7 separate regions of the Homo sapiens genome follow, and regions 1, 2, 3, 4, 5 and 6 are each linked to region 7. The links are contacts of gene promoters, found by promoter capture Hi-C in blood cells and fetal thymus (Javierre and others, 2016). All regions are on one chromosome and are shown on one strand. Each heading gives the region's core, a stretch centred on a gene start or on the middle of the fragment in contact. The rest is flanking DNA. Distances are from core to core; before and after follow the strand shown. Region 1 holds the start of HSD3B7 (hydroxy-delta-5-steroid dehydrogenase, 3 beta- and steroid delta-isomerase 7). Region 2 holds the start of BCL7C (BAF chromatin remodeling complex subunit BCL7C). Region 3 holds the start of FBXL19-AS1 (FBXL19 antisense RNA 1). Region 4 holds the start of STX1B (syntaxin 1B). Region 5 holds the start of SETD1A (SET domain containing 1A, histone lysine methyltransferase). Region 6 overlaps FBXL19 (F-box and leucine rich repeat protein 19). Region 7 holds the start of ZNF267 (zinc finger protein 267).

Evidence for each region. Contacts are between HindIII fragments. The CHiCAGO score rates a contact against its expected background, and 5 or more counts as called.
Region 1: a contact is called between the fragment with the promoter of HSD3B7 here and the fragment with the promoter of ZNF267 in region 7, in 15 of 17 cell types (naive CD8 T cells, non-activated CD4 T cells, total CD4 T cells and 12 more). The highest score is 37.7, in naive CD8 T cells.
Region 2: a contact is called between the fragment with the promoter of BCL7C here and the fragment with the promoter of ZNF267 in region 7, in 11 of 17 cell types (naive CD8 T cells, naive B cells, fetal thymus and 8 more). The highest score is 8.5, in naive CD8 T cells.
Region 3: a contact is called between the fragment with the promoter of FBXL19-AS1 here and the fragment with the promoter of ZNF267 in region 7, in 12 of 17 cell types (naive CD8 T cells, total B cells, activated CD4 T cells and 9 more). The highest score is 15.6, in naive CD8 T cells.
Region 4: a contact is called between the fragment with the promoter of STX1B here and the fragment with the promoter of ZNF267 in region 7, in 17 of 17 cell types (non-activated CD4 T cells, naive CD8 T cells, total CD4 T cells and 14 more). The highest score is 34.2, in non-activated CD4 T cells.
Region 5: the fragment with the promoter of SETD1A here is called in contact with the fragment with the promoter of ZNF267 in region 7 in 13 of 17 cell types (non-activated CD4 T cells, naive CD8 T cells, monocytes and 10 more); the score reaches 17.0 in non-activated CD4 T cells.
Region 6: a fragment that was not itself captured here is called in contact with the fragment with the promoter of ZNF267 in region 7 in 1 of 17 cell types (total B cells); the score reaches 5.7 in total B cells.

The regions. Positions count from the first base shown.
Region 1 is chr16:30,982,887-30,986,456 of GRCh38, reverse strand. HSD3B7 (hydroxy-delta-5-steroid dehydrogenase, 3 beta- and steroid delta-isomerase 7) reads right to left here and starts at 1,250. Exons shown (of 7, transcript NM_025193.4): 1 at 1,160-1,250; 2 at 633-804; 3 at 253-408; 4 at 1-34. The coding sequence starts at 798. It overlaps SETD1A (SET domain containing 1A, histone lysine methyltransferase), which reads right to left. Exons shown (of 19, transcript NM_014712.3): 18 at 2,685-2,822; 19 at 1,793-2,607. The coding sequence ends at 2,434. RefSeq lists an enhancer at 1,269-1,781. The HindIII fragment of the contact is 29,451 bases long and covers 1-3,570 here.
Region 2 is chr16:30,891,948-30,895,328 of GRCh38, reverse strand. It overlaps BCL7C (BAF chromatin remodeling complex subunit BCL7C), which reads left to right and starts at 1,252. Exons shown (of 6, transcript NM_004765.4): 1 at 1,252-1,476; 2 at 2,039-2,117; 3 at 2,381-2,489; 4 at 2,582-2,743. The coding sequence starts at 1,385. It overlaps MIR762HG (MIR762 host gene), which reads right to left. Exons shown (of 3, transcript NR_110942.1): 3 at 109-781. It overlaps MIR762 (microRNA 762), which reads right to left and starts at 1,426; the gene lies at 1,344-1,426. RefSeq lists enhancers at 1-51, 1,795-2,124, 1,663-2,295 and a silencer at 935-1,414. The HindIII fragment of the contact is 7,734 bases long and covers 1-1,718 here.
Region 3 is chr16:30,920,764-30,924,661 of GRCh38, reverse strand. It overlaps FBXL19-AS1 (FBXL19 antisense RNA 1), which reads left to right and starts at 1,393. Exons shown (of 1, transcript NR_024348.1): 1 at 1,393-3,898. FBXL19 (F-box and leucine rich repeat protein 19) reads right to left here and starts at 1,090. Exons shown (of 11, transcript NM_001382779.1): 1 at 203-1,090. RefSeq lists enhancers at 1,172-1,331, 1,372-1,461, 1,084-2,051, 1,492-2,311, 2,052-3,020. The HindIII fragment of the contact is 5,738 bases long and covers 1-2,221 here.
Region 4 is chr16:31,008,563-31,012,297 of GRCh38, reverse strand. STX1B (syntaxin 1B) reads left to right here and starts at 1,660. Exons shown (of 10, transcript NM_052874.5): 1 at 1,660-1,931. The coding sequence starts at 1,902. RefSeq lists an enhancer at 1,123-1,624. The HindIII fragment of the contact is 27,284 bases long and covers 1-3,735 here.
Region 5 is chr16:30,955,754-30,959,611 of GRCh38, reverse strand. SETD1A (SET domain containing 1A, histone lysine methyltransferase) reads right to left here and starts at 1,858. Exons shown (of 19, transcript NM_014712.3): 1 at 1,648-1,858; 2 at 731-895; 3 at 426-521. The coding sequence starts at 880. RefSeq lists silencers at 1,150-1,239, 1,380-1,599 and enhancers at 2,200-2,329, 1,787-2,550. The HindIII fragment of the contact is 14,721 bases long and covers 1-3,858 here.
Region 6 is chr16:30,938,836-30,942,462 of GRCh38, reverse strand. It overlaps FBXL19 (F-box and leucine rich repeat protein 19), which reads right to left. Exons shown (of 11, transcript NM_001382779.1): 8 at 184-347; 9 at 1-88. Among named protein-coding and RNA genes, the nearest start is that of ORAI3, 8.4 kb to the left of the region's middle. RefSeq lists a silencer at 324-453. The HindIII fragment of the contact is 714 bases long and covers 1,314-2,027 here.
Region 7 is chr16:31,872,397-31,875,907 of GRCh38, reverse strand. ZNF267 (zinc finger protein 267) reads right to left here and starts at 2,101. Exons shown (of 4, transcript NM_003414.6): 1 at 1,939-2,101. The coding sequence starts at 1,941. RefSeq lists silencers at 1,820-1,899, 2,050-2,099 and an enhancer at 1,986-2,280. The HindIII fragment of the contact is 12,710 bases long and covers 1-3,511 here.

The DNA.
Region 1 (3,570 bases), core at 1-2,500, 890 kb after region 7:
GTCTGCACACAAGCCTCGATCACGTTCCGGGTACCTGGCAGAGGAGGAGGCGTATCCAAGCTGCAGCTTCTTCCCTCTCTGCATCTTCCTCCTCCCCATCCCAGGTCCAGGGAAAACCATGACAGGTCAGGGGAGGCGGGGGCAGGGCTGTCAATAGGACAACTTGTCCCAGGGGAGTCACCGGAGGTCAAGGCCAAAGACAGAGTGGGGAACAAACAGGCAAGATGGCCAGGAGTGTCCAGAGCTCCTCACCCTGCACGTTGACCTCATGGATGGTCTTGGGACTGGCCCTGCCAAACACGTCTACCAGCCCAGCCGTGTGGATGACCACATGGGCTCCGGCCACAGCTGCTGCCACCTCATGGGCCTGGGTCACGTCCCCCTGGATGGCAGTCACCCTCACAGGCCCTGGCCGGGGTTGGAGGACACAGGCCATGTCAGAGCTGGGGCCAGAGGCCAGAGGCTGGGTTCATCTTCCACCCTGGAGTCACGTTCCCAATGTGACTCACTCGACCCATCCATGTGGACAGAAACCAGCATCATCTGTTCCACTGCAGGGGTGGGGATCCCAGCTTGGGAAGGGTTGGGGAAGCGTCCACACCCTCTCCACCACAAGCTCCCCCAACAAGAACCTGTCTTCAGCTCCTCCAGCCAGGGACCCAGGTGTTGGTCAAAGACCCGCAGCTCCCCGAGCCGGGGCTCCCGCTGCAGCAGCATTCGCACCACGTGCTCTCCCAGGAAGCCACAGCCCCCTGTGACCAGGTACACCAGCTTCTGGGCCTGTGCAGAGTCGGCCATGCCTGGCTGGGGAAGAGACCTTGGCTCATCCAGGGGCTGGCTGCCACCTGCTGCAACCACCTGTTACTGCTGGAGGTGCCCTGGAGCGGTGACGAGGCTGGCGTTTGCGGGGAGGGCAGAGCTGATCCTGGGAGCTGCAGCAACCAGGCCACCTGCCGTCTGCCCCTGCTGATGGCTGAGTTACGGAGAGAGGGGCGGGCTTGGGGTGCAGGAAGGGGTCAGGGTTTAGGGAGAGAGATTTGAAGGCAGTAAAAGGGTGGGGAGGCCAGGAGTTGAGGGAGGTGGAGGGAAGGTTATAGGAAGGTGGGAAGGGCCGGATGGAGGGAAAGGCCACCTGGGCACTGGCAGCGCCTCTGCCTACCTGCAGCCGCTATCCCAGGGTGCCCAGACTGGCCTGGAGGGGCCCTCTTCTTTCGTCCAGGGCTGGCCGGCCCGCACACCGTCCTTCCGCTGGCTCCTCCTTCTCCCTCCTGCCCCATTCCAGGAACAGAGACCCGCCCAGCCACAACCCCCACCACTCTTGCCCCAAGGCGCCCCCTGGCGGCCGCTCTGTGCTCCACTGGCATCTGGGTCCAGCGGAGAACTTGGTGGGGATGAAGCTCGAACTTGCAGAGTGGGCTGAAGGGGTCTGGGGCTGTGGGTGGAGCCAGCGGTGACCTCATCCCACAGTGTGACCTCAGGCCTTCCCTCCTGCTGGGCTTCCCAGGAGGCCGGAGGTCCAGCTGCAGCTGTGATTGTAGGAAGGGGAGGCCTGACCTTGGCACCACCCTGGCGGGCACTGGTGGGGTATTCCTGGTGCGGGTGCGGCTGCTGCAGCCTGTCAGGGGGTCCGAGACAGTCTCGGACTGTCTCTGCAGGTCTGGGCTCTTGCCTGAAGGCCCCTTTACCTGCCCCACACTTCAGGTACCCACTTTTCCCTCTCTTCAACTTGCACAACCCTCCGTGCCCTCTACCCCCAACCCCTCGCTCCTGCCCAAATACACCGACCAAACACTTTTGTACAATAAAGTTTAATCACAATTATAAAAATGTGGCGTCGGGTTTGCGCTATTAACATATGTACAGTCCAGCCCAGCAAAAGGGACCCACCCCGCCATCCTGGCCTGGCTGAGCCGGGGAGTGACACCAGGGTGGAAGGGTGACCCTCAGGGTCTGGCAGGAACAGATGAGGCAGGGTTCCAGGCACGGAGTCCCCAGGACTGGGGGTGCAGAGCCCCCCCAGGGGGAGAACATGGCCACTGCCCCAGAGACCCCTAAACTGGGGAGGGGTACACGCAGGGCGTAAGGGGAAGTCCCCATTAACACAAAGCAAGAGGACTGTGTAGCCCCCCAGGACAGAATCTGTACAGGCCGGCACCCCAGGTTTCCACAGGAAACAGCTGCTGGCTGCTACAAAACATTTACAGCTTCTTCTCCGCAAAGAAAAACAATCAGGGGGTGGTGGGCAGGGGTGACAGGAGAGGCAGAAGCTGCCTCCAGGGACTGAGGCTCCCTCGCTGGGCTTGGGGCCCCCAACCCCACGCTTGGAGATGGGGGCATGTGGGCCCTGCTGAGCCCACTAAGGCTGGGGGGGTGCTGGGAGCTCAGGGCACCAGGGGGAATAAATAGGGGTGTGGGCACCCATCCTGCCCCACCTCAGTTTAGGGAGCCCCGGCAGCTCTCTGTGCCACACAGACACGGGATCTTGTTGTCTTCCAGTGGGAACTTGTAGTCGTAGGTGATCTCCTCGTCCACGCCAATGGGCTGCTTGGAGTAGATCACGATCTTCTTCTGGGACTCGATGGTGATGACCTTGGCGTAGCAGTTAGGCTGCGGATGGAAGGGCGTGTGAGCCGTGGCCACCCCCACCGACCCCCAACTCCTGCCCCGGCTGGCCCCTGGCGCACCGTGCAGCAGTGGTTGATGAATCTGGCCAGGTTGCCACACTTGGTGGCATCGATGATGGTGTCGTGGTCCACCCGGAACAGGTAGCTGCTGCCAATGCCCTCCTGCACGTAGCGCTTCTCCCGCATGTCGGCCACCATCTGCCAGGGTGAGATGCGATGGTCAGGGAAGAGTCCCCCACTTCCTGCCCCTGAGCACGCCTGCCAGCCAGCACCCCAGGTCCACGCCCACCAGGCCTGGAGCTGCAGCTCTGCCTCCAGCTCCCGCTAACCCGGCACTGACTCTCTCGACTCTGCTTCCAGGAGCCCTCCCTCTTTGGGGCAGCATCCTAAGCCTCTGGTGGCCATTCTAAGTCACCCGCAGGGAACTCCAGGGAAATCTGCACTGGGTAAGAGAGCCACTGACTCCTTCGAGCATCTGCCTGGTCACAGTGGGGTCCCGGACTGCTGGGGCAAGTCTGGGGTTGGGGCAGCTCCTGAAATGACTGGCCATGTCACCAACGGCACCCTGCTCATCTCTCCTCCCTGGACCTCTCTCCAAAACAGGCACCTGTTGGCTGCCACCGGCTAATGCAAATGGCAGGCCGCCCATGTCAGGCCCCGCACCTCCGTGTGAGGAGCAACCCTTACTTCCCAGAAGACAGTGAGGAGCCTCTGCACGCCCTCCTCGGGTGACCTCACTCCCTTCCAGAGCCTCAGCCGCCAGCTATGTGGTGGGGACTCCTCCCAAACTTCCATTTCCAGCCAAAAGCCACCTCAGTGGAGCTGCTGGGCGTCATCCCCTAGATGTCCCTGGGGCATTGCAACCCCACATGTCCAGACTGGAGCTCATCTTGACCATATATTTGTTCTTCCTCCTCACACCCATCTCACTGGCCCTCCCATCATA
Region 2 (3,381 bases), core at 3-2,502, 980 kb after region 7:
ACAGCCACACCTTGAAACACACACACACACACAACAGCAGCACAAATTTTGACATGGTCTTATCTGCTGACAAGCCAGCCTCAAATAAAGTCAACAAAGACACACTCATTTTATTTAAGTAATGTACATTTTATTTAAGTCATGTGATGGATTTTCACAGAATACATATGCCCAGGGAACCAGCACCAGATTACACAACAGAACTGGATCAGCTCCCAGAAGCTCTCCCCTCGTCCCCTCCCAACCCTAAGGGCGATCACTATCTTGACTTTGGTGCACTATAAATTAGTTTTGTCTGGTTCTGAACGTAATACACCTGGAACCATCTAGTATGTACTGTTGCATTTGGCTTCTGTCACTCAAGATTTCATCATGCGACTTGTCTATGTTGCTGTGTGTAGCCGGGCATGTCAATCCCGTTGCTGTGTCTATGTGCATGGTAGTGAGTAGGGCATCATTCATTTTCCATTCTGTTGATGGGTTATTTCCAGTTTGGGGCTGTTATGAAAGGGCTCTGAACATTCCCATGCACCCTCTTGATGCTCACACCTACACATTTCTGCTGGGTGTTGACAGCCTAGGAGTGGAACTGCTGGATCACAGAGGTGGCATATGTTCGGCTTCATTAGAAAACTGCCAGTTTTCCAAAATGTCTCTACCAATTTACACTCCCCCAGAAATACAAGAGAGGTCCAGTCGCTCTACTTTCTCGCCTCCACACGGTGCGGTCTTTTTCACTTTAGCCATTCTGGTGGTGGAGACCCACTCGTATTCGCAGCGCCTGGAGCGTAATTGGCACTCAGTTAACAAGACTGTTGAATGAATGGATGACTGAGTAAGTTGGGCGGTGTAGACCAACAGCCTGGCGAGGGCGGACACACGCACGCACTCCACACACAGCGTTTCGCGGACACCCACCGCGGCTCACGCAGCGCAGGACACAGACCCTGTCGCGCACCCCGCGCCCACGTGGTCTGAACACACGGCCTCGGCCCTGCCTCGCGCGTCCGGTCGCAACTCCCGCTCTCCGTCCCCAACTCGCGCGTCCGTCCCCAACTCCCGCTCTCGGCGGCGGGCAGGGGGCGCTGAGCGTCCAGGCGCTCCAAGGGGGCGGGCCCGGGTCGGGGCGGGGCCGGCCGGGCTTCCAGGCCTGGGCTCTGGCCGCCCGCGCCACCGGGCCGCTCCGGGGACAGGCCGGGGCGGGGCGCGGCGGCAGGAAACGGGGCGGGGACTTGCGGAGGCGTTGGGGACGAGAGAGGGCGCGGCCAACTCCAGGGGGGACGGCAGGCCGAGAGCGCGGCGCCCGGGCCTGGCGCGGAGCCTGAGCCCGCCGGACGGGAGGCGGCCCCGCCGCGGGCTCGGCCCCGGCCCCAGCCCCGCCAGCATGGCCGGCCGGACTGTACGGGCCGAGACCCGGAGCCGGGCCAAGGATGACATCAAGAAGGTGATGGCGACCATCGAGAAGGTCCGGAGATGGTGAGCGCTGCTCGGGGGCCAGGGACGGGACACAGCGGGACCACCAGCACCAAAGGCGTCTACGCTGCCCTCGCCAGCTCTGGGCCCCGGGTGTTCGGTGTATCTCCACCCACTAGCTTTGCCCTGGATCCACAGGGCTCTGTCCCCGTTCGCCTGGCTACTCCTGGGGGTCTACAAAGCGTGATCCCCAGCCGTGTCCTCCCAGAGCGGGAGCCCCCTCTTGTGCCCCGCCCCCTAAAGCTTTGACACCCCTCCTGCAGGTGCGCCCCAGGATCTGCAGGGCTCTGATCCCGGGCCAGGCCCATAGCCACGCCCCCCATGTGTGCCCCAGGGGTCCGCAGAGCCAGGGCCCCAAATCATATCCTCTCTCTAGAGGCACCCACCGCCTATGCCCTGGGGTTTGCAGGACTCTCTTCCTCCATGTAACTATGCCCCATTAGCAAAACTGTTGCTATCCTCCTGTGCCTCCTCAACCTCTGCAGGTACCCCCAGATGTGTCCAGCTCCTAGGGGGGTGGGTCTCCCCTCAGGCCTCTCTGACCCAGCCCCCCACCCTCCCACAGGGAGAAGCGATGGGTGACTGTGGGCGACACTTCCCTTCGTATCTTCAAGTGGGTGCCAGTGGTGGATCCCCAGGAGGAGGTGAGCAACCCCCATTCCCACAAGGCCCTGCATCTGTGCAACCTCAGGCAAGTTCCTCCCCACGCTGACCTCTACCTCCAGCTCCCCGAGACCTCAGATGCAGCAGGACAGACGGGAACCATCATTAGCAGCTCCTCCCCTTTTGCCCTCTTTTCTGCTCCACACCCCCTGAGTTTGAGCCCTTTTGCTTCTCAGTGCCTCAGTTTCCTTAGGTGTATGGTGGGGCTTTCCAAGAGCTCTGACCCTAATCCTCTAACCCCCAGGAGCGAAGGCGGGCAGGTGGCGGGGCAGAGAGATCCCGTGGCCGGGAACGTCGGGGCAGGGGCGCCAGTCCCCGAGGGGGTGGCCCTCTCATCCTGCTGGATCTTAATGGTAGGTAGGGATCCTGAAACGCGGGGGGCTGTGGGGACTGAAGGAGTGTACTAGGGATCTCAGGCCAACCATCTCGGCTCTTGCTCCCGCAGATGAGAACAGCAACCAGAGTTTCCATTCGGAAGGTTCCCTGCAAAAGGGCACAGAGCCCAGTCCTGGGGGCACCCCCCAGCCCAGCCGCCCTGTGTCACCTGCCGGACCCCCAGAAGGGGTCCCTGAGGAGGCTCAGCCCCCACGGCTGGGCCAAGAGAGAGGTAGGACCAGGTACCTCCCAGGAGCTCTCTCCTCTAAGTCCTGTCTTCTCCAGAGTCTAACCTACCAGCTCATCCCTATACCTGCTCCCCGTCTTGTGCACCCTCCTCAAGGCGCCTTCCGACTCCTGCAGAATCTCCCTGTAGCTACAGTCTCATTCCTCTGGTCTCTTAGAATCTATACAGACATATCACTGTCTGAGATTTTCATGTAAATTAATTTTTTACTAGTTTATCTTTCTCCTCACTCTCATGTCAGTTTCCTGAATGTTGGGCCCATATTGATCCTTTTTTTTTTTTTTTTTTTTTTTTTTTTTTGAGAAAGGGTCTCGCTCTGTCACCCAGGCTGGAGTAGTATAGTGGTGTGATCATAGCTCACTGCAGCCTTGAACTTCCTGGGCTCAAGCGATCCTCCCGCCTCAGCCTCCCAAGTAGCTGGGACCACAGGCATATGCCACCACACCTGGCTAATTTTTGTATTTTTTGTAGAGATAAGGTTTCACCATGTTGCCCAGGCTGGTCTCAAACTCACTTGCTCAAGCAGTCCTCCACCTTCAGCCTCCCAAAGTGCTGGGATTACGGGTGTGAGCCATCACACCCACACCCGGCCCTCCCCCCCCTTTTTTTTAGAGACAAGGTCT
Region 3 (3,898 bases), core at 144-2,643, 950 kb after region 7:
GGGCTTTCAAGGGGAAGCAGGGTCTAGGAAGGAGGGCCAGTTCCCCAGGGTGGAGAGGTCATAGGAAGGAGGGCTGGAGATGAGTTTGGAGTAGAGAGAGGGTGAGGCTGGGGGCGGGGAAGGTAGAGAGAGGCCGGGCTGAGGATGAATGGGAGTGGGCGCTGCCCAGGTCTGGGGGTGAGGAGGAGCCGCATGAACCCACCTCACACGTGTCCCGGGAGCCATCTCTCCCTTCTCGGCAGCTCCCGGCGGGTCGGCGGCCATCGGCGGCGGGGGGGCCGGGCGGCGCGGGGCGCGGAACGCTCAGAACGCCGGGGTCCACGGCCCCCCGAGGGCGCTCGGCCCCTCCCTCCGGCGGAGGCCGGGACGGCGGCGAGTGGAGATGGGGGGCGCCGGGGGCGAGGCCCTCCCACGGGCTGCGGCGCGGCCCTTCCAGGGGGAGGTCCTGCTCTGGGAGGCTCAGTCCCTCAGCCCCCCCAGGCCAACGGGGGCTCCTTGGGCGCAGGGTGCTCAGCTTCTGCCCGGGGCCCACTCAGTCCCGGGTCCGAGTCCCAGCTCCCCTCCCCCCACCCCGCCCCGCCTCTCCCCAGCGCCCCTGGCCCTTTAACTGGCCCCTTCCCGGACCCCACTGCCCAGGGGTCCAGTGCCAGGCCTGGGCCCCCCCCACCGTTTCCGGGGTTCAAGCCCGCCCACCGCCGGTTCCCGGGGAGGGGGGGGTCGCTGTAACCTGCCCCCCTCCCCTGGGCCCGCCCCTGGACTGCGACCCCCTGCCCTACGGCTGCGAGGCGAGCGGAGGGGGAGGTGAAGGAAGCTGCTCCGGCCCCGCCCCCCCCAGCCCGCGCGCACCCCCGACCTCTCCCCCTCCCCCAAGCGCGCGACCCTCGGGAGATAGGGATTTAAATAAAATTTGAATAAATCCCCCTCCTCAAGCGGGAGGGTGGAAGGAAAGGATAGAGGGGGAGAGGGAAAGGGGAAGGGGGCAGTTGGGGTGTCTCAGCCCCCCTGGTCCCCCAGCCCCGCGCTGCTACGGCCCGGGGCCCTGGCCGCCTCTCTCATCCCTCCTCAGCTCCTTCCTCCTTCCTCCTCTCTTCCCCCCTCCCCTCCCCTCCCTCCTCCTTCCCTCCTCCTCCTCCTCCTCCCCCTCTTTACTCCCTCCTTCTCCCAGAGGAACCCCGCCCCCTTCCCCCTCCTTCCTCCACCACCTCCACTTTCCAGGACGAACGCACGCAGGGCTCGACGGGAGTTGTAGTCCTGCGGCCACTGATGCTACGGGGGAACAATAGGACGCTGGGGACAGCGGGAACTACAAACAGGACGGCGGAGGGCGTGCCCAGCCGGGAGCCGAGGATGCCGGGAGTTAGAGTCCCGTTGCCCCGAGGCTCCCAGTTGCAGAACATCGAGAAGGAGAGGGAACGATGACTACAAACAAGATGGCCTTCTCCCCCGACCCGACCTCCTTCCCAGGCACTCACACGCCCTCCTGTCCACAACCCTCCGCGTGTGTGGTACCTGACGGGAGTCGCAGTCCATCTGCTGCCTTCCCGCTGCCATTTCTACTCGTCAGGAACAATGGAAAGGTGAAAAGGAAAGAGGACTACAAGCAAGATGGCGGAAGAGGGACATACACCTGACTAGTAGTCGATCTTACGAGGTGCGATGGGATTAGTAGTTTTATAGCCTTCCAGTGTTCCTTAAGAATGGCGGAACCAGGAGGACGAGGAGACTACCGTAAAGATGGCAGGCTACCTAGCCTCTCCCGGTCTCCGCTTTCCACCACCTTGGGCACCTCGCCCGCCTGTGGTCTCGAAATCCCCCCCACCAGTGGCGCACGGCCTGACGGGAGTTGCAGTCTCCCGGCTCCCGTCTATCATCTCAAGTCGAGACAATGGAAGGGGATGGGGCGGGGCCACCGGCAAAGATGGCGGCTGCAGGGCCGGGGCGACTGCGACATGGGATGTGTAGTCCAGGCGTCTGGCCTCTTCCCTGCGGAAATGAGGGAGAGGACTACGAAAAAGATGGCGACCTCGCCCCTCGACCTCTGCGCCGGTGCCTGCTGGGAAATGTAGTTCCTTGCCGAGTCCAACAGAGAAAGGACGTCGCTGTTGAAATGTGAATCCCGGCGGACACGCCAAATTGCGAGGCGACGGAAACGGAAAGACTCTTTTCTCCTCTCTCCGCCACCGGCTTCTGAACAGCCTGGCGGGAAATGTAGTCCCAAGCTTTCACTCGCGAGTGGAGGGGAAGGATTTATGTCACCAGTGGGGATCAGTGCGGGTGGGGGAGAAAAACGTCGGGCGATCCGGGAATAAAGAATGTCCGCCTCTCCATGGGGCGAGGACTTCGCGTTTCAGGGGAGGGCCCTTAAAGGAAGGCAGCAGGAATCAGTCTTGTCGAACAGGGGGGCGTGGTTCTCGTCGAGAGTGCATTCACACTCTTGTTCCCTAGAAAGCCTGGGCACCTCCCACTCGATTCCTGCTCCTCAGACCTCCGGGAATCAGTGTCTTACAAGACGTGCGGGCTCCGGGGAAAAGGACCTGGAGTCACAGCGAATCCCCGCCCCGCCCCGGGAAGCCACCAAACCTTGCTTTTTCTCATCTGCAAAATGGGGACAATGGGGATAATGATCCCCACCTCGAAGCACAGTTGTGAGTGTTAAACAAGCCAATGTTCTTGTCACCAAAGTGCCCAACTCTGGCACGGGGCACGCGGTGGTAGATCCCTTTCTAAGGTCCCTTCCAGCCCAGCCGTTCTGGGAGCCCAGGAATCCATGATGCCGGACAGAGTTCGCTCCTGTGAGAAGAAAACTGACCCGCAGGCTCCTCCCAGATTGAACCGACCCCCGCCCCTCCTCATCGGGGTCCTCCAGCGTCTGTTACCGAGCACTGCTCCCAGGGGGCGCTCAATCTCCATTCGACTGAGGTACTACAAACACGATTTCCGCAACCTGGAGTTGGAGGCATTGCAGGCTGTCCAGCCTCATCCCCTGCCTGATATCCAGTCAGCCTTGGAGGCCTCTGCCTAGACACTTCAACTGCCTATGCAAATGGAACGGCTTCTCATCTTTCTGCCGTTTTTTGGTTTTTTTTGTGTGTGTTTTAAGGTCTTGCTCTGTCACTTGGGTTGGAGTGCAGTTGCAGGATCATAGTTTGCTGCAGCCTCGACCTCCTGGGCTTAAGCGATCCTCCTCCCTCAGCCTTGTGAATACCTGGGACTTCAGGCACGCGCCACTACACCCAGCTAATTTTTAAACTATAATTTTTTTTTGTTCAGACGAAGTCTCGCTATGTTGCCCAGGCTGGTCTCGAACTCCTGGCCACAAGTGTGCCTCCCGCCTTGGCCTCCCTAAGTGTTGGGATTATAGGTGTGAGCCAGCAGCCATACCCCTCTTCTCAATCTTCCTTCTCCCCTGGAAAACCTGCTCACTTCTGACCCCAAGACAGCCCCCTCCCCTTCCCTCTGTCTTCTGTGTTTGGCAGACCAGCCCCAGCGAGGACTTGTTGGTTGTGGTTTTTCTATCAGGGAAGTCAATGGCTGGCCAGTGTAGTGTGAAGTCCCAGCTTGGCAGAGACTTGCCCAAGGCTGGATAGGAGGCTTCTTTGCCGCTCAGGCTTTATCAGTCAGGAAATCCTTAGCCCTCCCTAGAGGATTGGCTGTCCCCTCTATCCTCACTGCTTGAATTTGGTGTTGCATGATTGATTTCTACCCTGTTCCCTCTGCTTGAGGGCTATCCTCCCCATGCCCATCTCACTTCTCCACCAAGTTCACTGTTCATCATTTACAGGTCTCTATTTATGTATTTATTATTTATTTTTCTACTTTCCCACTTTTCTAAAAGGTCTCTATTTAAATGCCACTGTCAATCCCAGCACTTTGGGAGGCCTAGGCGGGCGGATCATGA
Region 4 (3,735 bases), core at 411-2,910, 860 kb after region 7:
CGCTAGCCATGCCCACTGTAGTCATGGATCTACTCATGGCTCTGGTGGCATCTTCAATCTCTGTCTTCTTGGTGCCCAGCTCAGAGCTTAGGCATATAGTAGGGGCTGTCTTACAGGGGGAGGATCTGGCTCGCAGGTACAGATGTGGGCACTGCAGACACGGAGGTGCAGAAAGATGCAGGTAAAGAAGGAAGAGAATGCCAGGCATGGTGGCCCAGGCCTGTAATCTCAGCACTTTGGGAGGCTGAGGCAGGAGGATCGCTTGACCCTAGGAGTTCAAAACCAGCCTGGACAACATAGTGAGACCCTGTCTCTACAAAAAATAAAATTAGCCAGGTGTGGTGGCGCGTGCCTGTAGTCCCAGCTACTCAGGAGGCTGAGGTGGGAGGATCACTTGAGCCTGGGACGTTGAGGCTGCAGTGAGCCGAGATTGCACCACTGTACTCTAGCCTGGGCAACAGAATGAGACCCTAACTCAAAAAAAAAAAAAAAGAGAGAATGGACGGAGCCCAGGGAACCCTGAGGTTGAAGGGCTGTGGGAAAAAAGGTAAGGACCTGGAAAGAGGCTGGGAGACAACACTCACAGATCAGGTTGGGGGGTAGGTGGGCGGAGCACCACAGACAGGAGGGTTTCAGGAAGAGGGGCTCATCAGGGTCACATGCTGCTGAGAGGTCAGGGATGGTAAGGCCCGACTGGCGGTGTGGGATGAGGGTTTATCAGACACAGATTTGGCACCAAGGAGGTCACTGGGTACCTGGCAAGAGAATGCCGGGTGCGGTGGCCCAGGCATGGAATCCCAGCACTTTGGGAGGCTGAGGCAGGAGGATCGATTGAGAGTCAAGACCTGTCCCATTGGGGACCGGCGCCCCATTGCAGGGGGTGGGAGGAGCTGGTGTGGTGTAAGGATGGGGAGAGGAGAGGTGGGCATCAGAACAGGAGGTCACTCAGACCCTCAGGGGCACCTGATTTCCCCTCCCACTAAGGACAAATTTCATGTTCAACAGTCAGAGCCATCTGCAGATGGGCCAAGAGGTCCTGGGAGGTAGTGAGCACCCTGTCCCTGGAGGCAGACAAGCAGAGCTCCGAGACCCACCGCGGCGGGAGAGGCCCAGGCTGTGCAACACAAGCCCCGTGTCCTTCTCAGCAAGCACCTGGCTGGTTCCCTGCATCGTAAAAACCACACAGAGGGTCGGTCTTTCTATTTATAGTGTCCAAAGAGCCTCCTGCAAGAACACACATGGGCTCGCACCCAGAGGTGGTCGGCGCGCAGCCTCACGCAGACACCAGACACAAAACACAGCCGCGATCTGTGTCTCCTGGAAAGGGATCCACATCCTGGCTCCCAGGTTATTCCCTGAATTCATTCCGTCACCCCCTCTTTCCGCCGGGCCACCCCACCCCCCGGGCCACCCTAGCATCTCCGCTTGGCTCTCCGCATCTCTCCCTGCTCCTCGGGCTCTGCCCACCCCCACCCGCCTCCAGGCCTCTCCCGCCCCCTCCTCGGGTGTCCCCCAAGCCCGTGACTACAACCCCCAGGCGCCCCCGGCCCGGGTGCTGCGCATGCCCCCTGCTCCTTGCGCGCTCCCGCTCCCCCCGCCCTCGCTTCCTCCTCACCTCCCTCCGCCCCCCTCCCCCGCGCTCGGCTCCCGCATCCCTCCATCCTACCCTGTGCCGCAGCCGCATCGCCACCGCAGCCCGGCAGAGCCGAGCCCGGCCCAGGCCCCTGCCCCTGCCCGGCCCTCGGCCAGTCGCCCCCGGCCCCGCCCCCGCCCGCAGGCCCCCCGCAGCGGCCGCGGCGCCCCCCGGCGCCCCCAGACCCCGGCCTCCGGCACAGAGGCGGGAGACCCGGAGCAGCAGCAGAGGCAGGAGGACTAGGAGGAGGAGGAGGAGCCGTCGCAGGATGAAGGATCGGACTCAAGAGCTGCGGAGTGTGAGCTTGGGGGTGGGGAGAATGGGGGGGCGGGACCCCAATATTGGGGGAGCGCGTGGGGATGGAGTGGGGGAGGTGCTGGGACGTGGGGGCGAAGGATGAGATCGGAGGTTGGTAGCCGGAGCACCCCAGTATCTTCAGGCGCCTGATGTCTCTCCAGTGAACCTGCATTTTGGGGACAGTGCCTGGAAGGGGTTGGAGGCCATGAAGACACAAGGGGGCAGGAGAGGTCTCAGGGGCCTCGAACACCCCGCATTCCCAGGAGGGCCCCGGGGTCTGGTCTGGGGATGGGAGAGAGTGGATATCAGGAGAAACCGGAGGAGACTGTCATCCCCTGGGCAGGTTTGCCAAAGAGAAGCATGGGGGCGGTGACTGGGCCAGGCTGAGAGTCTAGCAGGACCCAGATTCAGGGGATGCTACGGGGAAGGACACAGGTTGGGACTGAGATGCCAGCACCTGGCAGTGAATGAAGTGTGTGTGTGTGTGCACACGCGTGTGTCACTCCCTATAGGGAGGGGGCATCTCTCCGAGACAGGGAGGGAAGAGGTGGCCTCCGGAGAGAGCCAGAGGGCCAGGGCCTGAGACAGGGTGACCCAGAGGTGGGAGATGGGGATGCAGAGGAGAGGGCCATGGAACACGGGCCGTGCTCTGCTTGGGGGAACTGGGGCACCCCGGGCAGTCAAGGGCTGATGCAGGCCCCAGGTCTGCAGGCCTGAAGAGGCCCGGCTCCAAGAGTCTGGCCAGGCAGTCCCTGGTTTTGGGGGGACAGGGGAAGGACTGCAGTGGAGGCTGCTACCTGGAGGAACTGGGGAGTGGGGTTCGATGAGAATGGTTTCAGGGGCAGGGAGGACGCTGGGGTATTTGGAGAAATGACCTGGGGCCCGAGGAGGCAGCACTGACAGTCCGCACTGTGCTGGGCTGGTGGTGTTATGTTAATAAGGGTACCGGCCCCGGCTGAGCTGCCCAATGCACTGAGCCTTTACAGGGAACTGGTGGGTTGTTACCCCAGGGGTTATTACCCCACTTGACAGATGAGGAAACTGAGATTCAGGCGTGGGAAGGGACTTGTCCAAGGTCACCAAGCAAGTGGGTGGGGGGCAGACTGCAATCTGGGTTTCCTGTCTGCTAGGTTGACACAGGTCTCTGCTTTTCTGGCCTTTGAAACAGAAGTTTCAGCACTGGGGGTGAAGAGCTGTCCCCTGGATTTGGGGGTGGGGACCCAGGTTACAGACAGACGAGAAGAAGGTGTTTGGAGGCAAGTGACCGCTGTCTCTGGGGACAGACAGGTTGCCAAATGGGAAGCAAGGAGGAGCTGGTGGCTGAGGGAGGGAATTTTAAAGGTTTCTTTATTACATTTTTACTGAATATACACTCAGGCATGAGGAAAGTGACAGTAATAATAAACATTGTTTGAAGTGTTTTATGCATATTCACTCATTTTGATCCTCACAGCAATCCTATGAGACTGGTTATCTCATTTCATAGATATATAAATATCTTTTTAGATATATAGATATATGTTATCTCATTTTATAGATAAGGACACTAAGCTCAGAGAGGTTAAGTAATTAGACCAAAGTCACACAGCTGGTAAAGGCAGGATTCAAACCCAGGCAGGCCGGCTTCAGCATCGGTGCTGTCAATTCCCCTCCTCAGTTTGCAGAGCAGGCTTTCATCCGTGATGTCATTAGAGCCCCACTGACCTCCTGGCAAGTGGACGGGGAGGCTCTTTCATTTTAGAGTTGGGGAAACTGAGGCCCAGAGTGGTTGAATAACTTTCCAAAGGTCACACAGCTAGCAGGTG
Region 5 (3,858 bases), core at 609-3,108, 920 kb after region 7:
GTCCTCGAAGGAAACAAGAGGGAAATGACATCGCCAAATGAGAGGCGGGGAATAGTGCTACCCAGGTAGGCAGTGGCCTTGTCACTCCCCTTGACTGTCAAGGAACTGGGAGATCCCACTCTTGTGTGCTATGATGCACTGTCTACGAATATACAGTGATAGGTATAGCAGCTAAAGAGTCTTTACCTCACCCTTCAAGAAGTCGACACCCCAGCCACCAGGGATACACTTAGGACACCTGACCTGCACCTTTCTGGAAGATTAAGTGTACCTCCTATCCAAAACAACTGAGTCTCACAGCCTCAGAGGTTGCTAGATCTGGCTGAGATCCTTTCATTGGAAACCCTTTTATTCAGCTATAGTGCCAAGACGCATCCTCCACACCCTCTTAGGACTACCACACCAGGAGCCCAGCAGACACTTACCTTAAACTTAGGGACTGGGAGGGAAAAGTCTCTGTTTTTGGACCTGACATGGCAACGGGGGTCTTGGAGGTCTTCGACTGGTATATACTTTGAGTCCTAGGAAGGAAAGCAGCAGCAGAAAGAGAGCTCAGGGTGAATCCAGGCTAGGGAGCTCCAAGCAGCCCATCTGGACACACACATGCAGAAGAGCTGGGTCCAACTGCCCACTTTCAAGAAGGCAGGCTACCGTTCTAGGTGCTGAACAGAATCACAGAGGACGGGCGCCTGGAGCTCCCCGGATGGCAACCAAAGACCCGGGCACTCACGTTGACACTGAAGTGGACTCCATCATAGCGGTACACCTTCTGAGAAGGCCTGCGCAGGGCAGGGTCCAAGGCAGGATCCACGATGAGCTTGTAGTTCCGCCACTGGAAGCTCGGGGCCTTCTGCCCATCTCCCCCACCTTCCTGATCCATCTTTGCTCATTTACACTGTTAGGGGAAGAGGGACACGCAAGAAGGATCAGGACTTGGGGCCTGACTCCCCTGCCTTTCCTCATTGGCTAGCCCCGATTCCAGGTTCTCCCATCACTCCAGTTTCCAACCCTCACCCTGACCCGGGGCTCCCCCGGATTCTCCCCCAAGTACCCTCTGTTTCGCCACAACAACCCAGCCTCTTTCCACCTCCCAACTCTACTGTCAGGCCCCCAGGCCCGTCTCGAGCCCCCTTACCTTCCCGCTCTCCCTAGCGCGCGCCCCACTTGGCCTCGGAGCAAGACCCCTCCCCCGCCCCCTGCAGGCCCCGCCCCCTCCCGCCTCCTCACCGGCCAGCGGCCCGGGCCGAGCCCGGCCACGGCTCCCACACACCCGCTCTCCTCCCCGCGCCCCGATCCTCCGGCCGAAAGGTGGCACCTCTTCGGGGCGTTGGAAACACCGCGAGACCGAGCCCGAGACCCGGCTTCGACCCCGAATCCGGGCGGGGGGGTGGGGGGAACGTGCACCGCTGCCCTCTCCTCCCGCCCCGGCGCGTTCTGCACCCCCCCCAGCAGGTCTCCGCGCACGCGCGCCGCGCGGCCCCACTCACCCGCTCCCGGCGAGCGGCTCCCCCTCCCCCCACCTCGCGCGGCACCTCAGCGGCGCGAGGCGGCGGCAGCGGCAGCGCGAGACCCGGCCCCGCAGCGGTGGCGGCGGCGGCGCCCCCCCACCACCACCTCCCCGGCGCGCGCACCAAACACCACTGCCACCTGCGCGAGGCCCAGCGGGCACAGGGTCTGCATTCGCACTTTCGCCACAGGCGCTGCCGGGGGACCCACGGGGCCGAGGGTAGCGGCTTCGCCTCGGCCGGCGCCCTGGGAGGCTCGGAAGTTGCGGCCCAGGGAGCTTGGAGATTGGCCGCATCCCCCGGAGAGTCGGCTTCGCCACGACGATCTAGATGCTGCGGCCCGGGACCTTGACGAATCGGCGGCGACGAAAGCTGCGACTAGTCCCTGAGGAAAAGGGGCGGGGCGGAGGGGAGGAGGCCAGCCAGCGCTGGGGAACCTTCAGTGGCGCGTTCTGCAGACGCAGATTCACCGGGCGGGCGGGGCGAATCGCTGGACAGGATGCGCGCCGCTTTGCTTCTCTTCCCCGTCCCTTCCTTGCACTGCCAAATTCTGAGAGGCTGCAGATTCGCCACTGTTCCCGGCCTCAGCCGTAGCCTCCCCTTCATCCGCCTTGGTGGAGTCAAGAAAATAACGGCCCGTTAGCCAATCCCTGCTGGCAGAGTCGACAACTTTTTTTGGATTTTTCTTACTGGCCCAAGTGAGAGAATAGCCCGCTTCTGTCCCTGGGGAAAATGCCTCCAGCCCAGCGCTCCTCTCAGAGTCCGATGAGAATTTTCAGCCGAGTATCGAGGGACCCGAGGAATTCTGAGGATCCGACCTGGCGAATCTGCGGATTCCGCTGTGGGCGGGGCCGAGTCAAGGGGCGGGGCCAGGGCGTGCAGAGCCTGGGACTAGGGGGCGCCTCCGGGAGGACCCACGAGGACTCACCCGGATGGGAGGGACGGCCGGGAGGTGGAAAAACACAACCGTGAGCGGTGACTCAGGCGGTTTGCCCCGCCTCGCACATAAATGCAGGGTACCTTTCCTTCCCGTTATTGCCCTTGGGTGTCTGGCTGCTTAGGATGCCCATTTGCCAGATGGGGAGAGTGAGGCCTGTAGAAGGTGCCCTACTTTGCCGTACTCAAACCCACCATTAGTGGTTAAATCCAGGGACCGCCTCAAGGTTTTCTGATGAGCCTAGTGGGGCCTAAGTGCCCTTAAATGGGCCTTGTAATAATAAACGAGGTCCTACAGGAACGGGACTGGACTGGTGTGTCCTCCTGGCGTCATGGTCCCACTGCCCGCTTCTTTGGCTATGGCGCCCTATGCTCACGGGATGCCTCCGCACAAGGGCAGCAGCGGCCCAGGCCTACCCCTGGAACTCGGGCTGAGGTTTCTGAAGGCTGGGCACCGTTTTGATCCCGTGTGGGCGCAGGCACTCCCAGGAGGTCCCTTTTCCTGAGCTGAGGATGCCCCAAGCTCCTGATATGTGTACATCAGGCCCTCGCTATATGGCCTTGGGCAAGTCATTGACCTAAGTTTCAGAGTCTTCCTTTAAACTTGGATGTCAATTTGTACACATCCGAACAGTGCAGAAAAGACCCTTAGAGCCTGGTTTATGCAAATTCACCATTTTAAGTAATAGGAAAAGGTGGAAGGGAGACTTATCCAAGGTCTCACACCACAAGATAGAAGAAGATTAGGACTCTACAATTTTGAGGGAAATAAGGCTGAAAAAAATAATTTACGTGGAGGCATAGGTGTTGAGATCAGATTCCTTTCTGTTCCAGTTGAAAGGCACTGGTTCCTTTTCTCAAATCAAAGAGAGATTCCCGTGTGAGGGGTAGATAGTCCAAGTTCAGTTTCATGGACTAGCTGTGTGGTTTTGGGCAAGATCTTCAGCCTTCTTGGGCCTGTTTCCTTATCTCTGAAATGAAAATGATAAAGACTTAACGCTTAAGGTGTTGTGAGAGTTAAATAAGATAACCTATGAAAGTCCCCTAGTATGTGGTAGTTGCTCAAGAAAGAAACTTGAGGCCAGGTGCAGTGGCTAACACTTGTAATCTCAGCACTTTGGGAGGCCAAGGTGGGAGGATCACTTGAGCCCAGGAGTTCAAGACCAGCCTGGACAACATAGTGAGACCCTCCTCTCTACAAAAAAAAAAAAAAATTAATTAGCTGGGTTGGTGGGACGTCCTGTGGTGCCAGCTATTTGGGAGGCTGAGGTGGGAGGCTCATGAGCCTGGGAGGTCAAAGCTGCAGTGAGCCAAGATTGCACAGCTGCACTCCAGCCTGGGCAAAAGAGTGAGACTGTCTCGGCTGGGCGCGATGGCTCACACCTGTAATCCCAGCACTTTGGGAGGCCAAGGCAGG
Region 6 (3,627 bases), core at 421-2,920, 930 kb after region 7:
TCCAGGAGCCGCAGGGCTGGCAGTGGGGCTGAGCCCAGGGCAGAGACAGAGAGCCAGGAGCAGCCAGAGAGCACCAGCTCCTGCAGGCCTGCGGAGAGGGGGCAGTCAGGAAGCAGGTGCTGTGAGGACTCCATCCCAGGCCTGTCCCTGTCCCCACCCTGTCCTCCGTACCACACACCCTACCTTGTAGTCGGTTCAGAAGCCACATGAGCTGCTTCTTGGAGACACCTGTCCAGCTGAGGTCCAGGGCACGGGGCTGGCGGCGAACCACACCACTGAGCATGGGCGGGGTCAGTGACTTCCGCCGGCTCAGGTCCATTCGAGGCCACAGACGCTTGTCATAGCACCTGGCGGCCATAGGGGGGAGACAGAGACCTCAGCCCTCAGCTCTCAGCAGCCCACAGTTCCCAGGCTCCCCAGCTCCAAGGGTGCACCCCAGCTCTCTTCTGGCCACACAGACAACAGGGTAGCAAGAAGCACCTGACCTCAGCCAAGAGCACTGGGATTGGAACCCAACTCCATCACTAACTGGAAATGAGACCCTGGGCAAGTCTGTTCCTCTCCCTGAGCCTCAGAAGCCTCGTTTATGATTGAAGGCAATAGCCCCCCCACTCTGCCTGCCCACAGGGCAGCTGTCAGGTCACATGGGCTCATCCCAGCTGTGGGCCTCCCAGCATAGAAAGTGTGCTGCCCAACACATACACAAATGCCACGCATGCTGCCTGATGTCATGCCAAGGGGACTGGTGTTATCCAGTCGTCTCCAGCCACCCTTGGGCTTCTTGATTCCTGACTGAGTTCTGGTGCTCATGGGTCCTTGCCTCCTTTACTCATCTCTGCTTCTGATCCACACCTGTCCCATCTTGACAGCCAGCTGCCCGCAGCTGGACTTACAGCCCTAATATCTTCCCTATTACATTACTGTGTTCCTCCAACTACAATGTAAATTCCACAAGGGCAGATTTGCGTTTTCCACTTTTTGAAAAAAAATTTTTTTTGAGACAGGGTCTCACTCTGTAACCCAGGCTGGACTCAGGCTCACCGCAGCCTCAACCTACTGGGCTCAAGCAATCCTCCCACCTCAGCCTCCTGAGTAGCTGGGACCACAGGCACATGTCACCACGCCTGGCTAATTTTTAAACAATTTTTTTGTAGAGACAGGGTCTCACTATGTTGCCTAGGCTGGTCTTGATCTCCTGGCCTCAAGCGATCCTCCTGCCTTGGCCTCCCAAAACACTGGGATTACAGGCATGAGCTACTGCACCCAGCTGCCCATTTGTAATGAATGAATCAAGCTAGTAACTACTTAAAGCTTCCACTGACCACTCTCCCCCACCTCCTCATCTACAGCATTTCATTTATTCACTCTGATTATAGAAAGCGTTATAGGTCCCAAGTATTGAAGCTACAAAGATGAACGAGTCCTAAGCAACATTAAACAGGTTTCCTAACCCGAGCACTCCACAGGCCTCAACAGACTATCTAACATGCAGTGGGCTGGGTGCAGTGGCTCACACCTGTAATCCCAGCACTTTGGGAGGCCGAGGTGGGTGGATCATGAGGTCAGGAATTCGAGAACAGCCTGGCTGTTCTACTAGTGAAACCCTGTCTCTACTAAAAGTACAAAAAATTAGCTGGGCATGGTGGCGGGCGCCTGTAATCCTAGCTACTCGGGAGGCTGAGGCAGGAGAATTACTTGAACCCGGGAGGCGGAGATTGCAGCGAGCCGAGATCGCACCACTGCACACCAGCTGGGGCAACAGTGAGAGACTCCATCTCAAAAACAAACAAACAAACAAACAAACAAAAAACATGCAGTGAACTGGAGAAGGGCCTCTCAAACGTACTTCCCCAGGAATCCTTCCCCACCTCTCCCAAGGTAATCTAGTAACATTTTGTAGTACACTGAAGTTCCTTTGGACTCAGTTTGAGAACTCTCTTCTCTGAGTTCAGTAGTTCTCAAAGGCATGTCCAGAAATGCCTCTGAGACTCAATAGACTGTGTCAGAAGCAGCAGGCCCAGGAAGCTTTTTTTTTTTTTTCTTGAGACAGTGTCTTGCTTAGTCACCCAGGCTGGGGTGCAGTACTGCGATCACAGCTCACTGCAACCTTAAACTCCTGGGCTCAAGCCATCCTCCTACCTCAGCCTCCTGAGTAGCTGGGACTACAGGCACATGCCACCACACCTGACTTTTTTTTTTTTTTTGAGACAGAGTTTCGCTCTTGTTGCCCAGGCTGGAGTGCAATGGTGTGATCTTGGCTCACTGAAACCACCATCTCCCAAGTTCAAGCGATTCTCCCGCCTCAGCCTCCAGAGTAGCTGGGATTACAGGCATGCGCCACCACGCCCGGCTAATTTTTTGTATTTTTAGTAGAGATAGGGTTTCTCCATGTTGGCCAGGCTGGTCTCGAAATCCTGACCTCAGGTGATCTGCCCACTTTGGCCTCCCATAGTGCTGGGATTACAGGCGTGAGCCACTGTGCCTGGCCTATTTTTTTATTTTTAGTAGAGACAAGGTTGTCCAGGCTGGTTTTGAACTCCTGAGCTCAAGCGATCCTTCCCTTGGCCTCCCAAGGGAAGCTTTCTCTTGCCTCCCTCCCTGCCCTCATGACTCTGAAAGGCTTTTCCTTGTAGAAGCCCTGGGCTGGGGCAGTGATTCCCAAGCTCCAGTATTTGCTGTTCACTTATCTGCGTAACATGATTTATCTTTGAATCATCTCCTCTTTGCACTTAAAACCAGTATTGTTGCCGGGCGCGGTGGCTCATGCGTGTAATCCCAGCACTTTGGGAGGCCGAGGTGGGTGGATCACTAGGTCAGGAGATCAAGACCATCCAGGCTAACACAGTGAAACCCCGTCTCTACTAAAAAAAAAATACAAAAAATTAGCTGGGCGTGGTGGAGGGCGCCTGTAGTCCCAGATACTCGGGAGGCTGAGGCAGGAGAATGGCGTGAATCTGGGAGGTGGAGCTTGCAGTGAGCCGAGATCGTGCCACTGCACTCCAGCCTGGGCGACAGAGCGAGACTCCGTCTCAAAAAAAAAACAAAAAAAAAAACCCCAGTATTGTTTCACATAAATATGTTAATCTTAAAAATAAACACAAAAGTCCAAGTGTGGTGTAATCCCAGCACTTTGGGAGGCCAAGGTGGACAGATCACGAGGTCAGGAGATTGAGACCATCCTGGCTAACACGGTGAAACCCCATCTCTACTAAAAATACAAAAAATTAGCCGGGCGTGGTGGCGGGCACCTGTAGTCCCAGCTACTTGGGAGGCTAAGGCAGGAGAATGGCATGAACCTGGGAGGCGGAGCTTGCAGTAAGCCGAGATTGCGCCACTGCACTCCAGCCTGGGTGACAGAGCGAGACTCTGTCTCAAAAATAAATAAATAAATAAATAAAACACAAAAAAGACCAGAGTTATTAAATCCTAGCCAGGTGTTGCTGTGGCTTTAGGCTACTACCTGAAGACTACTTTTGTTAAACAGGGAGATAAGTATCAGAGAAGTGTTAGAAAAAGCACCCAATAGTGGCCAGGCGCAGTGGCTCACGCCTGTAATCCCAGCACTTTGGGAGGCCGAGGCAGGCGGATCACGAGATCAGGAGATGGAGACCATCCTGGCTAATACGG
Region 7 (3,511 bases), core at 852-3,351:
TAACAATGAAGTATGACTTGATATTTTAATTTTCTGAAATCCACCTTTCATGGCCTTGGAAATGTTTTTTATCTTTCAAGCTCTACTGATGAAATTTACACTAACTGAAAAACTGAAGTAGAAATAAATGAACAATCTAAGGCAGCAAACTCAGGGAGTGGTAATGCTGTTGGAATACAGACATATCTGGCTCAAGTGTCAAGTCAGGTCACGGTATCATTTGAGACATTCTCCTACCCCAATACTGCTCATTAAAATGCTCAGGGACCATCCTCCCAGATCCTGCACTGTGCCCCATGGACACCGCAGCCGAGTTTGCACCACCTCACTGGGGTGGGGTTTTTGTTTTTTGGTCCTTTGGGAGTTTTTCTCCCTTCACAAATCTGAATGAATCTAGGGGGCAGGAATCATTTGTGACTGTTTCCCCTCAATACCAGCAAACGATTGGCTGACCAGCAATGTGTCTCCAAGGGATGAAAACTAGCTTTGAAGAAATAAAATCCTTATGTCCCAAGGGGTTATCTTTTTAGGTTAAGGGTGTCCCAGGAGATTTCTCTCAGCCCCAGGGCATCCAGCTGCTCCCCTGAGGGACTACATTTCCATACCTTGGGCGGTCCTCTAACAGGAGGTGACCTGGGGCTGACAGTCACTAAACACTCCAGGAGACATGGCCACTGTGGGCATCTTGAGTCATCCCAGACAGTTCTGAAATTCAGGAACAGGAAAAGACTGGATAGAGGGTGGCTATACAGGGCCCTGTAAAGTTTCCAAAGCAAAACCTCAAGTCAAAAGACATTCTTTCCGATAACGTGTCTGTGCCTGGGGAAGATGAATGAAAAAGAGGCACAGTTTTTTTTGCAGTGGAGTGTCAGGGATTTTTTATTCTCTGCTTTCCTCTCACGTGAAATGTATGCCAAAAAAACACAAATCTTTAAAAAAGTGTCATCCACTGCTCTGTGAAATCATGATTAATGAGTAAAATACTGTCTGAAATGTACAATAAATGACCAATAGTTAAGAATGTGAACTGGAGAGGGGAAGTTGGCCTTTGGAAATGTCGGGAAGGAACTGGAAATTTAATATTTTATTGCAAGCCCAGTTAGACTGGGGGAACACAGTGGTGGACTTGAGACTCTGCGTGCTACACGTTAGGAAAGCGCAGGGGGAAAACCAGTTCCCCTGGGCAGTGTTAAGATGATTAATGAGCAGGCGATTATACGGAAGTGGTTATAGTGCCCCAGGTTTCTAGGGAGAAAAACCAAAACCAAACTCAAATGCTTTTCTTGTAAATTACAACTTTAGGGGAAAACAAAATTCAGACTTAACGAACCACAAAGCTCCAATTCACCTCCACCTGCATAGTCTAAATAAGGCAACTACAAACTGTAACCCATCGGTTAATTTGGTCTGCTTCCTCATGCACCTTATAAAAACCTTTCCTTCAAGCCCCTCTGGGGATCTCCGAACCACAAACCAGGACTGCAGGCTTCCCATGTCACAAATCGCTATTTGCTCAAATTCTTCAACGTTTTAACAGTGACTCCCTTTAATTCTTAAGAGGAGTAGTGACTGAGGACCCCACAGGGCACGGTTTCTTCCCACACACCGAACCTGGGTCTCCCCTGAGACGCTCCCGTCCTCACCGCACAATCTGGGGGAGACGCGGGGCTGCGACGCGGAGCTGCCCAGAGAGGGCTCCGGCCAGGGACGAGGTCGCTCTGCGGGGTCGGGATGGGACAGGACACGCGGGGTCCCGGCTGCCGGCCTGGCCGCCATCTTGCAGCGGAGGGGACCGAGGGCCGAGCTGCACCAGTTGGGACTCGGGGCCCAGACCCCGAGGCTGACTGCGGGGAGGCCCGGGTGCCCCTACAGCGGGTTCCCGCCGCTTCCGACCACCGCCCTCCCTCCCTCTGGGGACCCCCGACCCCGCACACTCACCATTTCCCAGCTTCCGGGATGCCCTGGCGTCTTAGCTACGAATCTCCCAGTGCCTGCAAGTCGCAGAGCAACAGAGGTTCTGTTTATTCTCAGAACGCGAAGCCGCCTGGGCCTCCCAGAACGAAAGACTCGGAGCTGTGGCGAGGAGACCCGAGCTCTAACTGGAGCCGACGAAGGCCCCCGCCAAATCCCGGAAGCCGCCCCTGCTCTCCGGCTTCACTCCTGATTGGACGGTTTCCACTCCAGCGCCCCTGATTGGATAAAGCTCCATGCCCCGCCCCCTCATTATTAGTGCCTTTTTTTTTTTTTTTTTTGAAAGGGAGACTGGCTCATTGAGGTGGGGCCGCCTGCTGCGGGTATTACAGCTAATTAAGGGGTGAGCTGCGACTTGAAATACACTTGCTCTTTCCCTTACCTGGTTCTGCTTGTATAAGACATCTTATTAGCTAATTAAGTTTAAGAAGAAGTATATTTAGACACCTTTAAAGCAAGAAAGACCCTCATCCCGTCCCTTAGCACCTCTCTTACCGCACTGTACCCCACTGCTAACGCCACCGTGGGAGGGGGCCCCTCAGCTGGGAACAGAAGGCCGTACACTTCATTCACGTGTTTTCAATTAGGCCCTCGCATGATACATAGACTGAACCAGTGCAAAAGCATCTTATAGGGGCATGCAGGCTGGGGTCCCAGGAGGATGTTGCGGGCCGTGGTGGAACGTGGAAGAGGGGCTGGCCTATTCTTCTAATCTACAACTCTGCCCGCATCTCCTGGAGTCTGCATCACTGGTAACGGGGCCGCTGACTGTCCGTCTGTCTCTCCTTCTCAATCCCTTCAAGCTCAGGGAAGAAGGGTCCTTGGCAGCGACAGGGCTGGGAGCTCAGTTCCTCTGGGCCGTGCTGGCTCAGGCTCTGTGGCCACGGACTCCTCAGCCCTACCTCTGGTTTTTGCTTTTGTTTTGAGACAGGGTCTCACTCTATTGCCCAGGCTGGTGCAGTGGTGCAGTCATGGCTCACTGCAGCCTCCGGGGCTCAAGCAATCTTCCCACCTCAGCCTCCTGAGTAGCTGGGACTACAGGCACATGCCACCATGCCCGGCTGATTTTTGTATTTTTTGTAGAGATGAGGTTTCACCATGTTGCCCAGGCTGGTCTCCATCTCCTGAGCTCAAGCGATCCTCCCACCTTAGCCTCCCAAGTAACTGGGGCTACAGGTTAATAGTCAGTTCGCCAACTCCTGAGCTCAAGTATTCTGTCTGCTTTGACCTGCCAGAATGCCCTATTCCTGTTTTTCTGGAGTCTTGGAGCTAGTGGCGCTGCAGCACCTCGTAGTCTTCCGGCTGAGTAGATTCTCCTAGTCTTCTGGCTGAGTAGAAGGTGGGAGAGGAGGTGGGTGTCAAACTGGGCCAGGGCCCTCGGCCGCCATCTAGCTTGGTTAAACTCCCACTTGGGACAGATCAGGCTCTGTGCCTTATTCAGTGAGACGTGTGGAACAAATGCTTCCCTCCCCAAAGCAGAAACATCCCTGATTGCTGACAGTCAGGATTCCATGCACTTGTCTTGGCCTGGGGCATGGCT